Regions from separate parts of the Homo sapiens genome. Here regions 2 and 3 are each linked to region 1. Evidence: promoter capture Hi-C in 16 types of primary human blood cells and fetal thymus (Javierre and others, 2016). All regions are on one chromosome and are shown on one strand. Each heading gives the region's core, a stretch centred on a gene start or on the middle of the fragment in contact. The rest is flanking DNA. Distances are from core to core; before and after follow the strand shown.

The links. The method cuts DNA at HindIII sites, captures the fragments that hold promoters and counts their contacts. A CHiCAGO score of 5 or more calls a contact.
Region 2: a contact is called between a fragment that was not itself captured here and the fragment with the promoter of TMEM184A in region 1, in 1 of 17 cell types (M0 macrophages). The highest score is 5.9, in M0 macrophages.
Region 3: a fragment that was not itself captured here is called in contact with the fragment with the promoter of TMEM184A in region 1 in 2 of 17 cell types (monocytes and M0 macrophages); the score reaches 5.5 in monocytes.

Annotation. Positions count from the first base shown.
Region 1 is chr7:1,552,925-1,557,515 of GRCh38, reverse strand. It overlaps TMEM184A (transmembrane protein 184A), which reads left to right and starts at 1,311. Exons shown (of 9, transcript NM_001097620.2): 1 at 1,311-1,402; 2 at 2,032-2,250. The coding sequence starts at 2,032. RefSeq lists silencers at 1,036-1,125, 1,166-1,235, 2,603-2,785 and enhancers at 893-1,692, 1,829-2,123, 1,693-2,493. The HindIII fragment of the contact is 30,451 bases long and covers 1-4,591 here.
Region 2 is chr7:2,195,673-2,199,797 of GRCh38, reverse strand. The region is part of intron 10 of MAD1L1 (mitotic arrest deficient 1 like 1); the gene reads left to right. It overlaps LOC105375126 (a long non-coding RNA gene), which reads right to left and starts at 80. Exons shown (of 3, transcript XR_001745062.3): 1 at 5-80. RefSeq lists an enhancer at 4,070-4,125. The HindIII fragment of the contact is 6,509 bases long and covers 1-4,125 here.
Region 3 is chr7:2,323,484-2,327,611 of GRCh38, reverse strand. It overlaps a transcript of SNX8 not described here. Among named protein-coding and RNA genes, the nearest start is that of SNX8, 11 kb to the right of the region's middle. The HindIII fragment of the contact is 1,400 bases long and covers 875-2,274 here.

The sequences.
Region 1 (4,591 bases), core at 62-2,561:
CAGGAGAATCACTTGAACCCAGGAGGCGGAGGTTGCAGTGAGCCGAGATCGCGCCATTGTACTCCAGCCTGGCGACAGAGCGAGGCTCCGTCTCAAAAAATAAATTAATTAAAAATAAAAGGGGAACAGTGGCTCCAGTCATTCCAGCCTCAACCCCTTGAGCCCTGTTGCTCAGGGCTGTGGGAGGGTAGGAGATATGAAGGACAAGGAGTGTGTGGATCCGTTGCGGGCATGGAGCGGGACTTGGTAATGGTGGCCCCAGCGGCATGAGCCCAAGCGTAACCAGAACAGGACAAGAGGTGGGCTGAGGGCCCACATCCCTCTCCCAGGAGCCGGGGTGAGTGAGTTTTTTCTCCACAGGGGCCTCTGCATGGGGGTGACAGGGACCCTCAGGGCCCCGCAACCCCTTGCCAGACCCCAAAGGGTCCAGGGACTGGGCTGTCACTCCCCCTCTCCTGCCTTGATCCACAAAAACCAGAAATATTTCCTTTTTTTTTTTTTTTTTTTTTTGGACACAGAGTCTCCCTCTGTCCCCAGGCTGGAGTGCAGTGGTGTGATCTCAGCTTACTGCAACCTCCGCCTTCTGAGTTCAAGCGATTCTCCTGTCTCAGCCTCTTGAGTATCTGGAATTACAGGTGCACGCTGCCACACCTAGCTAATTTTTGCGTATTTCGTAGAGACGGCGTTTCACCATGTTGGCCAGGCTGGTCTCGAACTCCTGACCTCAAGTGATCCACCCACCTTGGCCTCCCAAAGTGTGGGGATGACAGGCGTGAGCCACCACGCCCGGCCCAGAAAACAAATGTTTTCAACTCATCTCTTGGGGCGTGGATTTTTTTTTTAATTCAGATGAAATTCACATAACATCAATTTACCCAGGTTTAAGTGAACGATTCGGTGGCGGTAAGTATATCCACAGTGCTGTGTGCCTGCCGCCTCTACCTCATTTCAGGACTCCTGTCACCCCCCAGAGAAACCCTGTACCATTAGCTCTCCACCCCTCCTCCTGCAGCCCGGCCCTCCTTGGCCTGCCGCAGACCTCTCCCACGTGTCCCCACCAGGTGGCAGCTGCCTGGCCGTCTGGCATAGGCAGGTGAGGGCGCCAGGCGGCCAGCAGGTTCCTGGGAGCCAGCTGCCACCCAGCAAACAACCGGGAGGATAGGGTGTCAGCCGTGGGAGGGGACAGGAGGGGACGGGCCTGCAGCCTGGGGCCCAGGTGGGCCACTGGGGACGTGAGGCACTGGCCGCCCCGCCCCAGCCTGGCACAGCCCTTCAGATCCTGGCCTTGCCGCACCCACAGTGGGGCCTCCAGTTGGGGCCACGTGGCCATGAGAATGACCAGCTAGGCTTCCCTGGAGGCCAGGCCTCCCTGGACTGGGCCAGGTGCTTCCTGCCAGCAAAGGTAGAGCTGGGCCCTGTGACCGCAGACCAGAGGGAGAGGAGGAGGCTGGACTGGGCTGCGAGTGTGGGAGAGGGTGGACTCAGGGCCCCAGCAGGTTAGTGGGAGATGGAACAGGCACCCAGGGCTGCCAAGAACCCCAGCAAAGCCGGGCTCCCAGGTGGGTGGACAGGTCCCAGAGCCAGTGAGGGCCGGCTCCTCCCATGAGGGTGGCTGCACACCCCCTCCTGCCGGGGCAGGCAGTGCTGGTCTGCGCCCGCTCCCCAGCCCTCCCGGGCAGGCAGGGCGGCAGGGGTTCCCCCTCTTCTGCCCCACTGGAAGACGGTCTTTGTCCCCTAAGAAGCAGGCTCCCTGCAAGCCTGAGACTCGGAGTTGGAAGCTGGTTTTACAAGGGGGAATTGAGGTGGGACCCTCAGGTCGCAGGTGGTTGATGGGTGAGCTTCGATGGCTGAGCTCGGAGCAGGGAGGGAGCCGGGCCTGGCGCTGGTGTCCGTGTGGGGGGTGCGGCCTGGTGGGTGGCTCAGCCTCAGCTCCCGTCTCACTGTCTCCTCCCTCCCCCGCTGCTTCCTGCTGCCGGGAGCCAGTACCTTTGCCCTCACTCCTCCCGGTGTGTGTCCTCCCTCCCTCTGCAGATGAGTAATGTCTCAGGGATCCTGGAGACAGCCGGCGTCCCCCTGGTGTCAGCGAACTGGCCGCAGCCCAGCCCCCCACCGGCTGTGCCAGCTGGGCCGCAGATGGACCACATGGGGAACAGCTCCCAGGGGGCCCCCTGGCTCTTCCTCACCTCCGCACTGGCCCGAGGCGTCTCGGGGATCTTCGTGTGGACTGCCCTGGTGCTCACCTGCCACCAGGTAAGCCCTTCCGCCCCCGAGCCTCCTTCAGGACCTTGGTCTCCACAGGACGTGGCCGTGGCTCAGCCCGGTCCCCCTGGGTGCCGCTGCTATAGACGCTGTCAGAAGTGGGATCGGCCAGGGCACGGGGGAGGGGATGAGCTTCCCCAGGATGTGGCATGTGGGAGCTGGGCCTGAAAATGGGGAGATCTCTGCCAGGCTGAGGGCAGAGCGCCCACCGGGCACCCCTGGCTATTTCACAGGCTCGTCACTCGGCTCACTGAGGTCTGCAGTGTGGTCCCATTTCACAGACAAGAAGACTGAGTCTCAGAGAGACCAGAGGTCTTTCCCAGGCTCACATAGCTGGAAAGGGGAAGGGGCCTTCTCCTTCCAGAGGCGTGACACCCTGGAGAAGGCTGGTGGGAGGTTGGCAGGGGGTTGGACTTTGCTCTGTAGGGAGCTGGGGAGCAAAGGTCACAGCTTGTTAGAGGGACCGGGACTCCTGTGCAGGAGATGGGCGAGAAGCAACTTCCCCAAGCCCGAAGCCACACACAGCCCCCGACCCGGAGCAGTCCCCAGGTGGGAACAGAACAGCCCCCAGGTAGAGAAGCGGCCAGGCGCTGTGGCAAGGAAGGGCCAGGCAGGGGCAAGGAGGAAGTGGTGCCCGAGGGCAGGGGCTGGGCAGAGAGGGCAGGGAGTCAGGGACAGGACCCTCCTGAGAGACTCAGATACACAGAGAGGCCAGGGCGGTGTGCGCAGGGGTGGGGTGGGAGTGCGTGTGTAGGCCCGCGAGGGCCACACGGCTGCAGGGATTTGTCCAGAGCCCTTGACCCCAGTGCGGTGAGGTGGCTTTCAGGGGGTGCTGGGAGCCCAGGAAGGCTGTGGAGGGCTGGGCTGAGGGCAGAGCTGCTTCCCGGGTGCACGGGGCACTGGTGTAGGGAATGGATCTGTAGGTGAGCTGGGGCAGGGGGCCATCAGGAGACTGGCAGGCAGGGACACCGGTGGCCACAAGTCTCCGAGGGAGCATCTCAGTGACAGTTTATTAACTGCTTATTAGCCGGGCATGGGGGCCTGCACTGTTAGTCCCAGCTACTTGGGAGGCTGAGATGGGAGGATCGCTTGAGCCCAGTTCAAGGTTGCAGTGAGCTGTGAACAGATAACCAGAACCCACGGTAGACGTGTATGAGTGTGGCCTGGAGTGTGCAGAGCCGCGGAGGCAGTGCCGAGGCAGGCCCTTCCTGTAAGGCCATCAGAGAGGGCTTCCCGGAGGAGGCCGTCTTTCCGCTGTAATCCTGGGAACCGGCTGTGTGTGCGCGGCTGTAGTGTGGCTTTAGCTTCATGGGGCCTCGCAGTCAAGACAGGGCTCATGGAGACCCCTTGGGCTGGAGTTCAGGCCCTGTCCCACCCCTGAGCCCACCGCCAGAGTCACCCTTGAGTGAGGAGTCCCAGGCAGGACACAGAGTGGCTGGATCCCCCTCACTTTATACATGGGAGGACCGAGGCCGGAGAGGACAGTGGCTTGTCAAGGTCACCCAGCCAGGCAGCGCCAGCCCCGGGAGAGGTCTCCTGATGGCTGGTCATGCCGTCCCTCCCAGGGACCATCGGGGAGCGTGTGACTGATAAGAGTCTGTTCCTGCCTCCAACCTCCCCCAACTCCCTGAGCTGCACCCCAAGCGGCCAGGTGCACGTAGCCTCTGCTCGCCCACCGCCACGCATGCACCTCCTCCAGAAGGCCTTCCCCAGGAGCCCCTGTGCGCCCAGCTCCCAGGCTCGGCTGACCCTGTCTCAAAGACCCTGTAGTTGAGTTGTATCCTCACAGAAAACATGGAAAATCGGTCAGGCGTGGTGTCTCACACCTGTAATCCCAGCATTGTGGGAGGCCAAGGCGGGTGGATCACCCGAGGTCAAGAGTTTGAGACCAGCCTGGCCAACATGGGGAAACTCTGTCTCTACTAAAAATACAAAAATTAGCCGGGCATGGTGGTGCGCGCCTATAATCCCAGCTACTCAGGAGGCTGAGGCAGGAGAATCACTTGAACCCGGGAGGCGGAGGTTGCAGTGAGTTGAGATTGCGCCACTGCACCCCAGCCTGGGCAACAGAGCAAGACTCCGTCTCAATAAAAAAAATAATAATTAAAAATTAAAAAAAATAAAAACGTGGAAAATCTAGAAAGGTTTAAAGGCAAACACTACTATAATCACCCATACTTTTTCCCAGGCTTTCTTTTTTTTTAGGCAGGATCTCACTCTGTGACCCAGGCTGCAGTCCGGTGGCACAATCAGTGCTCACTGCAGCCTCCGCTTCCCGGATTTAAGCCATCCTCCCACCTCAGCCTCCCGAGTAGCTGGGACTGCAGGCGCC
Region 2 (4,125 bases), core at 172-2,671, 640 kb before region 1:
TTACCGCGGAGTCTGGGCTGCAGCTGAGAAAGCCGTCTCCTAGGACCAGGAATCTGGGTTTGGGAGGCTGGAGGTCTTGGCCCAGCAGTTCAGTGGCTGCCCGGTGTGTCTGCCTGGCCTGGCCCTCGTCTGGTTTCCGTTGTCTGGGAGGCACCCCTGCCCGTGCCAGGCGGGGCACTGCGGGGGCGCGGATGCGGAGTGGAAGACTGCTGATTTAGGAATCGAAACTCCAGGGACATCCGTGTAGCAGAGTGATTCTAAGATGATTAAGAAAACCATCAATGATTTAAAGAAAGTGTTCACTGCAGTCCTTATTGAGCGGTTTGCCGCGTGCAGGGCATGTGGGGGTGGCGCACCAGGCTGCAGGCGCCCTTCATGACGGCAGGCAGGGGACCTCCTAGGAGTCTTGGCTGTGACACGTGAGGTATGAAGGCCAGAAAGGTGAACGTGTGGAATCTGTGACCCAGAAGTAACAAACTCCTTTCTTGGAGAGCAGTTAGGTATTCCATTCCTTAGTCCATATGCCAACATTTAAAAAGGCCAAAACCAGAGGCCTAGAAAATGTATCTGGAAGTTGCAGTGAGACCGTTTTTGATCATTGTGGCCTTCCTGGGGCTCAGTTTCCTCGCTTTGCAAATGCCATTTTGGCAGGGATCTGCTGTGGGGCATCTCCGTGCAGGTGGAGCTGGAGTTGCGCATCTTTCTCAGGCTGGCATCATACAGGCCCCAGTGCACTCTGGCAGGGAGGGGCAGCCCCCTCCTGGATAGCCCCGCCCAAGGCCGGGAGGACTGTGAAGGGGGGATCCCACTGCCTGACCTCAGCCTGTCGGGCCCCACAGCGCGTCTCTCTGTGGACTGGTCGCCGGCTTCCTGTGGCCTGTGTGTCCTCCGAGTGGCTGGAGCTTTGGAACCCTATTCTGTAGCTTGGAGCTCCTGAGCCTCAAAGGGCAGGGGCCTGGTTCCTTGCCCATCCTTGCCCAGCCTGATGGCCTGTGCTTGTGGACTGTACATGGGCACCTGCTTTAACACCTGGAGGAGTAGGGGCTACCAAGAGCATGTGGCTCTGGGCCTCCCTGGGAGAGTCACTCAGCGGCAGGAGAACTGAGTGGGACACATCAGGGAGTGTCTGTCTCATGGACGCCTGTTGGCCTGCAGCCTGGAGAGGGGGCCTGAAGTGTGTGTTCCATGCTCTTGACCCCCAGGAAGCACTCGCCTCTGTTGAAAGCCTCGTGCCGCAGAGCGCGATTGCTGTCCCGGGTGGACGGCCATCACGGGCTCCTTGCTCCGGCGATGCCAGCGCTCCTGGTGTTGTGTGTGGCTGGCTCCCCCTTGTCTCAGCCCTGGGCTTAGAGCAGGCCAGGTGCTCAGGCAGTGGTTTTGTTGCTTGAAGGGGGGTGTGTACCTGGCTGCAGCCTGTGGAGAGCGTGAGTGGCTGGCAGAAGCAAAGGCGGGCTCTTGGGAGATGAGAGCAGGCAGCCGGCCTGGAGGCTTCCATGGGGCTGGTCAGCTCCTGCTGGCTCTTCCTGGCACAAATCCACGCTGGGCTGGGTGCCTTGGCTCACACCTGTAATCCCAGCACTTTGGGAGCCTGAAGTGGGAGGATCGCTTGAGCCTGGGAGTTCAAGACCAGCCTGGGCAACACTGTGAGACCCTATCTCTATTTTTAAAAATAAAAATATAAAGATAACCCTTCCTCCAAAAAAAAAAAAAAAAACCCAAACTCATGGTGGACCTTGGGATGAGCGGGGGCGCTTGTGGGGCAGAACTGGGTGTGGTTGCCCCGTCCTGGGCCTGTTCCCAGGCCTGCTCTTAGAGGAGGGGCTGATGGGCCCTGTGGGTGCAGGGAGATGGGGTCAGTCACAGGCTGGGGCCTGGGGGCTGGGACCTGGGGGCTGGGACCCGGGGGCTAGGACCAGTTTTGGCTCTCAGGCAGGGAGGGGTTGTGAACTCTGTTTTGGGAATGTGTGTTTGAAGTGTCAGTGATGTAGCCAGAAGGAGGTGTCAGACAGCAGCCGATGTCAGGCCTGCATGGCTCCTAGAGGAGCCCTAGGGCTGGCCTGCCCAGTGAGGGGCAGGGATGAGCCGGCCTAGGGGAGTGGCAGAGCCAGAGGAGCAGACAGCTGGCCCGAGTCTGGAGGGATTTTGGCGTTTGCAGGTGGCTTTGAGCCTGAGGGCCAGTGCCTCACCGGGTCAGAGAGCTCTGCAGCCCGCCAGTCCTGGTCGTGCCTGTGTCCGAGCTTGGGCCCGTGTGCAGGGAGAAGGTGGCTGTGCAGTGCACGTCGTGTGTACCAGGCGTCGGCGGAGTGATGCGTGGGTCGGGGCGGGAGATGAGAGGAGGAGTGAGGAGAGGCTAGAAGCCTCCAGAGCAGTGGGGTTTCTTCCTCTTCTTCACTGGTGAGTGCTTCTTGAACACATAGGTGTGCAGGCCTGGTGCTGGGTGCTGGGGATACAGCTATAAGTCAGGGGCTGTTTTCCAGTCCTCTCAGATCTAGCCGGGCATATGTCTGCTAGGTCAAGCGTGGCTCCTGAAGAGATGACACTTGAGAGGCTGGCAGCATGTTCCAGATAGGGTGGGTGCTGGCAGCACACAGGTTGGCCAGATGCTGCGTGTTCGGACAGTGTTGTGTGGCTCCAGCTGGTTCTAACCACAGTTCTCCTGGGATGTGGCAGAAGCTGGACAGGTTGGCAGGGATCTGTCCTGTCCTGAGGGTGGTTTGGACCGCGTCCTGCAGGTCACAGGAGCCGCAGAAGGTCTTCATCAGGGAGGAGCACATCCGCCAATTGTGAAGGGGCCTCTTTCCTCACTGAATTCGCAGGGCGAGGACCTGGCGCCTTGGCAGGACCCTGCTGGTGGAAGTCCCTGGGGCTGTCTGACCCGCTGCAGGTTTCAGCAGCCCCGAAGTGTGGGGAGGGTGGGCGGTGTTTCCTGTTGTCAGTTGAGAGCCTCATGGAGTAGGAGCCGTGGAGTCAGCCGCGTTGTAGTGAGAGTTAGAATTGAGCCGCACTGTTCCTGTGAGCAGGGAGCCCGAGGCCTTCTGACTTCTGAAGAGGGTTCGTGTTGAAGGCCAGACTCTCCCTGTTTTTCTGTTTCCTCTTCAGGTGAATGCCTGTTCCTTTGTGACCACAGTGTCTGTGGGTAGCACTGTGATTTTGGAGACGCTCGTTTGTTTGTTCATCTGAACATTTATTTGGAGACCTGCCGTTTGCCAGGCTTTGGGCTGGCTCTGGCGACGCTGTGACGAGCACAGCACAGTCTGCCCACGTAGTGCACACACACAGACAGCTTTAAACAATGAAAACAACAGGGGTGCCTCCTCAGATGCAATCTTTTGGAAGATGCCGCAGGAGCGTTTTGCGGGAGTATCTTAGTTGGAGACGGCCTTGTTGGATATGAATGACGCTGGTGGGAATGAAGGCCAGACGTTTTCCCTGGTTTGGAAACAGGTGGCTTACAAGAGTTTCTAGAGTTTATTTGTTTAAAGACAGAGCCTGTTCTCAAGAGGGTCTTCACTTTGCTGGCAGGATGGCACTGTTGACGGTGGTGGTTGGCTCTGGAGAGCTGCTGTGTAGTTGACAAAGCCTGTTGATAATCAGCGTCTCATTCGTTCTTCCTCAGAACCCTGTGGACTAAGCTGGGTTCTGGGAGGGGCTGACTGGCCCAAGGGCATCCAGTGAATTTGTGGCCCTGTTGCCGGAATGCTTGGCTGATCCTGGAGTATGGTGAGCTGTGCCCTCAATAACCTCCATCCATCTGGCTGGCCACATGGTGCCATGCAGCTGGATCCTGCATTTTTGTGAGCTGATCAGCCCGATGCTGGCACTGAAAGGATTCTGTTGGGAGCTGCCATCCATTTAGCCTGAGCGGAACTCAGCACATGTGCGGGCATGAAGCCCATCAGCTGATAGCTTCTTTTTCAGACCTGATGGCTCCCAGCCGAACTTTGGCAAGAAGGACCTACCAGCCTGCTGGAGGGCTGACCTGCCTGCCTTTGCTGGGAGCCAAGCACCTCCTGGCAGTTCTGGGATTTGGTTTTCAGTGGGAGGAGGCTCTCTGCAAGGTAGAGTAAGAGCAGTAATTACTTGGGAGAGGAAGCGTTTAACTTCTGAGGCTGCAACACAATACTA
Region 3 (4,128 bases), core at 325-2,824, 770 kb before region 1:
CACAGTGAAACCCCATCTCTACTAAAAACACAAAAAATTAGCCGGGCATGGTGGCGGGCACATGTAGTCCCAGCGACTCTGGAGGCTGAGGCAGGAGAATGGCATGAACCAGAGATGCGGAGCTTGCAGTGAGCCGAGATCGCGCCACTGCACTCCAGCCTGGGCGACAGAGCGAGACTCCGTTTCCAAAAAAAAAATAAAAAAATTAGCCAGGCATGGTGGTGGGCGCCTGTAGTCCCAGCTACTTGGGAGGCTTAGGCAGGAGAATGGCGTGAACCCAGGATGCGGAGCTTGCAGTGAGCCGAGATTGCACCACAGCACTCCAGCCTGGGCAACAGAGCCAGACTCTGTCTCAAAACAAAAAAGAAAATAAAAGGAAAAAGGAAATGCCTTGTGAAGACAGACATACAAGGAGAAGGCAGCTGTGTGATGACAGAGGCAGAGACTGAGGTGACGTGTTCACAAACCAGGAACCCCCTAGGAGACAAACACCAGAAGCTGGAAGAAGCAAGAAGGAATCCTCCCCTATGAGTTTCAGAGACAGCGTGGCCCTGCCGGCAACTTGATTTCAGACTTCTAGCCTCAAGCACTCTGAGACAATATGTTTCTGTTGTTTCAAGCCACCAAGTTCGTAATATTTTTTAAAAAATAATTTTTATATTATCTTTTGTAGAGGCAGGGTTTTGCCATTTTGCCAAGGCTGGTCTCGAACTTATGAGCTCAAGTGATCTGCCTGCCTCGGCCTCCCAAAGTGCTGGGATTATAGGTGTGAGCCACTGTGCCCAGCCCCTGGCGATACTTTTCTATGGCACCCCAGGGAAACTAATATATATGGTGAATTACCTTGATTTATTTTGAAATATTAAACCAAGCTTGCATTTCATTTGGTCACAACATTTTATCCCTTTAATTTATTTAATTCAATTAATTATTATTATTTTTTTTTGAGATGGAGTGAGACTCTGTCGCCCAGGCTGGAGTGCAGTGGCGTGATCTCGGCTCACTGCAAGCTCTGCCTCCTGGGTTCAAGCCATTCTCCTGCCTCAGCCTCCCGAGTAGCTGGGACTACAGACTCCCGCCACCACGCCCGGCTAATTTTTTTGTATTTTTAGTAGAGACGGGGTTTCACCGCGTTAGCCAGGATGGTCTTGATCTCCTGACCTCGTGATCTGCCCGCCTTGGCCTTCCAAAGTGCTGGGATTACAGGCGTGAGCCACCGTGCCCGGCCCCTTTTATTTTATTTATTAAGAGACAGGGTCTCACTCTCTTGCTAGGCTGGAGTTCAGTGGCATGATCACAGCTCACTGCAACCTCCGCCTCCCTGGTTCGAGCGATCCTCTTGCCTCAGCCTCCCAAGTAACTAGGATCACAGACATGTGCCACCATGCCTGGCTAATTTGTGTATTTTTTGTAGAGACAGGGGTCTCACTATTTTGCCCAGGCTGGTCTTGAACTCCTGAATTCCTCCCAACTCAGCCTCCCACAGTGCTGGGATTATAGGCATGAGCCACCGTGCCTGGCTGATTTATCTCTTTCCTCTTACATTTACTATAAGCAGCAAGAAAAAACCAAGCCTCACTTTCAATACTTTGCTTGGAAGTCTTCTTAGTTAAATATCCAAGTTTATAATTTATAAGTTTGGCTTTGCATATAATTCAAAGATACATTCCCGCTAAGATTTCTGAGACTACATAATGGGGTCCCCCTTTCTCCAGTTTCCAAGAACACATTCCTGTTACCTTCTTTTATTTTTTTATTTTTATTTAAAAAAATTTTTTTTGAGACAGAGTCTTGCTCTGTTGCCGAGGCTGGGGTGCAGTGGCACGATCTTGGCTCACTGCAGTCTCCGCCTCCCAAGTTCAAGCAATTCTCATGCCTCAGCTCCTGAGTAGCTGGGACTACAGGCGCTTGCCAACACACCCAGCTAATTTTTTGTATATATATTTTGTAGAGACGGGGTTTTGCCATGTTGCCCAAGCTGGTCTCAAATTCCTGAGCTCAAGCAATCCGCCCACCTCAGCCTCCCAAAGTGCTGAGATTACAGGCATGAGCCACCCCACCTGGCCTGATATTCCTCATTACATTCTGAGCCCTCATCAGCAGCACCTTTAACGTCTGTATTGTTACCAAGAGTCTGTTTGTGACCATTTAGGCATCCTCCCAGATGATTTAGGTTTTCTATACCACGTTCCTCATTTCCTTCTAAAAGTCCTCACTAGCAGAGTTTTTAACTTCCCTATTTCTAGTAACAACCAATTCCAGGAAACCTAAGCTTTTTCTGTATCCACCTCAAAACTTTTCCACTGCCGCTGGCGTGATGGTGCATGCCTACAGTCCCAGCACTTTGGGAGGCTGGGGCAGGAAGATTGCTTGAGCCCAGGAGATTAATGCTGCAGTGAGCTCTGATTGCACCACTGTGCCCTAGCCTAGTCAAGAGAGCAAAACTCTGTCTCTAAAAAAATTTTTTTATAAAAGCAGTGGGCCAGGCATGGTGGCTCATGCCTGTAATCCTGGCACTTTGGGAGGCCAAGTCAGGAGGATAGCTTGAGACTGTCCTTGAGACTGGCCTGGGCAATACAGTGAGACACCATTCTACAAAAAATAAATAGCCTGTAGCTGGGACTACAGGCGTGTGCCACCATGCCTGGCTACATGGCCAATGCCTGCAGTCCCAGCTACGCAGCAGGCTGAGGAAGGAGGATCTCTTGTACCCAGGAGACGGAGGCTGCAGTGAGCCATGATCCTACCACTGCACTCCGGCCTGGGTGTGATAGCAAGACCCTGTCTCAAAAAATTAAAAAAAGGAAGAGTGTTGAGAAGAAATTGGTAGCTTTATAACACAGGGCAAATGCCCACAAGGGTTGTGAGAATGGTGTCTTGCAGCCTAGGCTAGGATCTCAGCTCTGGGATCTTAGGGTGTTGAACTTTTCTGGTCTTGGTTGCCTGCAAAGTACTGATCATACCACTTCCTAAATTTTTTTTATTCTTAGTTTATTTTTATTTTTATTTTTTTGAAAAATAGGTCAGTCACAGTGGCTCACTCTTGTAATCCTAGCACTTTAGGAGGCTGAGGTGGGCAGATTGCCTGAGCTCAGGAGTTCGAGACCACCCTGGGCAACATGGTGAAACCCTGTCTCTACTAAAATACAAAAAATTAGCCAGGCGTGGTGGCGCATGCCTGTAATCCCAGCTACTTGGGAGGCTGAGGCAGGAGAATTGTTTGAACCTGGGAGGTGGAGGTTGTAGTGAGCCAAGATCACACCACTGCACTCTAGCCTGGACGACACAGTGAAACTCTGTCTCAAAAAAAAAAAAAAAGAAAGAAAGAAAATAGAGATGGGGTGTCACTACGTTGCCCAGGCTGGTTTTGAATTCCTGGGCTCAAGTAACCCTCCTGCCTTGGCCTCTCAAAGTGCTATGATTACAGACGTGAGCCACTGCCCCCGGCCAGGATGAGATACATTCTTTTTTTATAAATTCTTTTTTTTTTGAGATGGAGTCTTGCCCTTGCCACCCCAGGCTGGAGTACAGTGGCGTGATCTCAGCTCACTGCAACCTCTGCCTCCCAGGTTCAAGCGATTATCCTGCCTCAGCCTCCCAAGTAGCTGGGACTAGAAGCATGCACCACCATGCCCAGCTTATTTTTGTATTTTTAGTAGAGACGGGGTTTTACCATGTTGGCTAGGCTGGTCTCGAACTCTTGATCTCAGGTGATCCACCTGAGGTTGCAGTGAGCCGAGATGGTGCCACTGCACTCAAGCCTGGGCAACAGAGCAAGAGTCGGTCTCAAAACAAAAACAAAAAACCAAGAAGACTCAGTTCCTAGTACGCATTCAATACGTGTTAGCGTGGTTAGTGTTTGGTGCTGTCCTGGCTTCTGGCGTGCCAGGCACGTGGTAGTACTGCACTTCTGGTCCTTCTGAGGTTGAGCGAGACCACATCACTGGTCCTGGCCAATGCGTTGTGAACAGCAATGAGTCTTACTTCTGGGCCATATCATTTAGCGGCTCCTGCAGCATCCTCCAGATCCTTTCTCTCTGTTAACATGGCAGAAATGCAGGATGGTGGCCGCTCTGTGATCCTGGGTCTCTGCATGCCGGTGACAGACATGAACCCCTTTGTGACTTT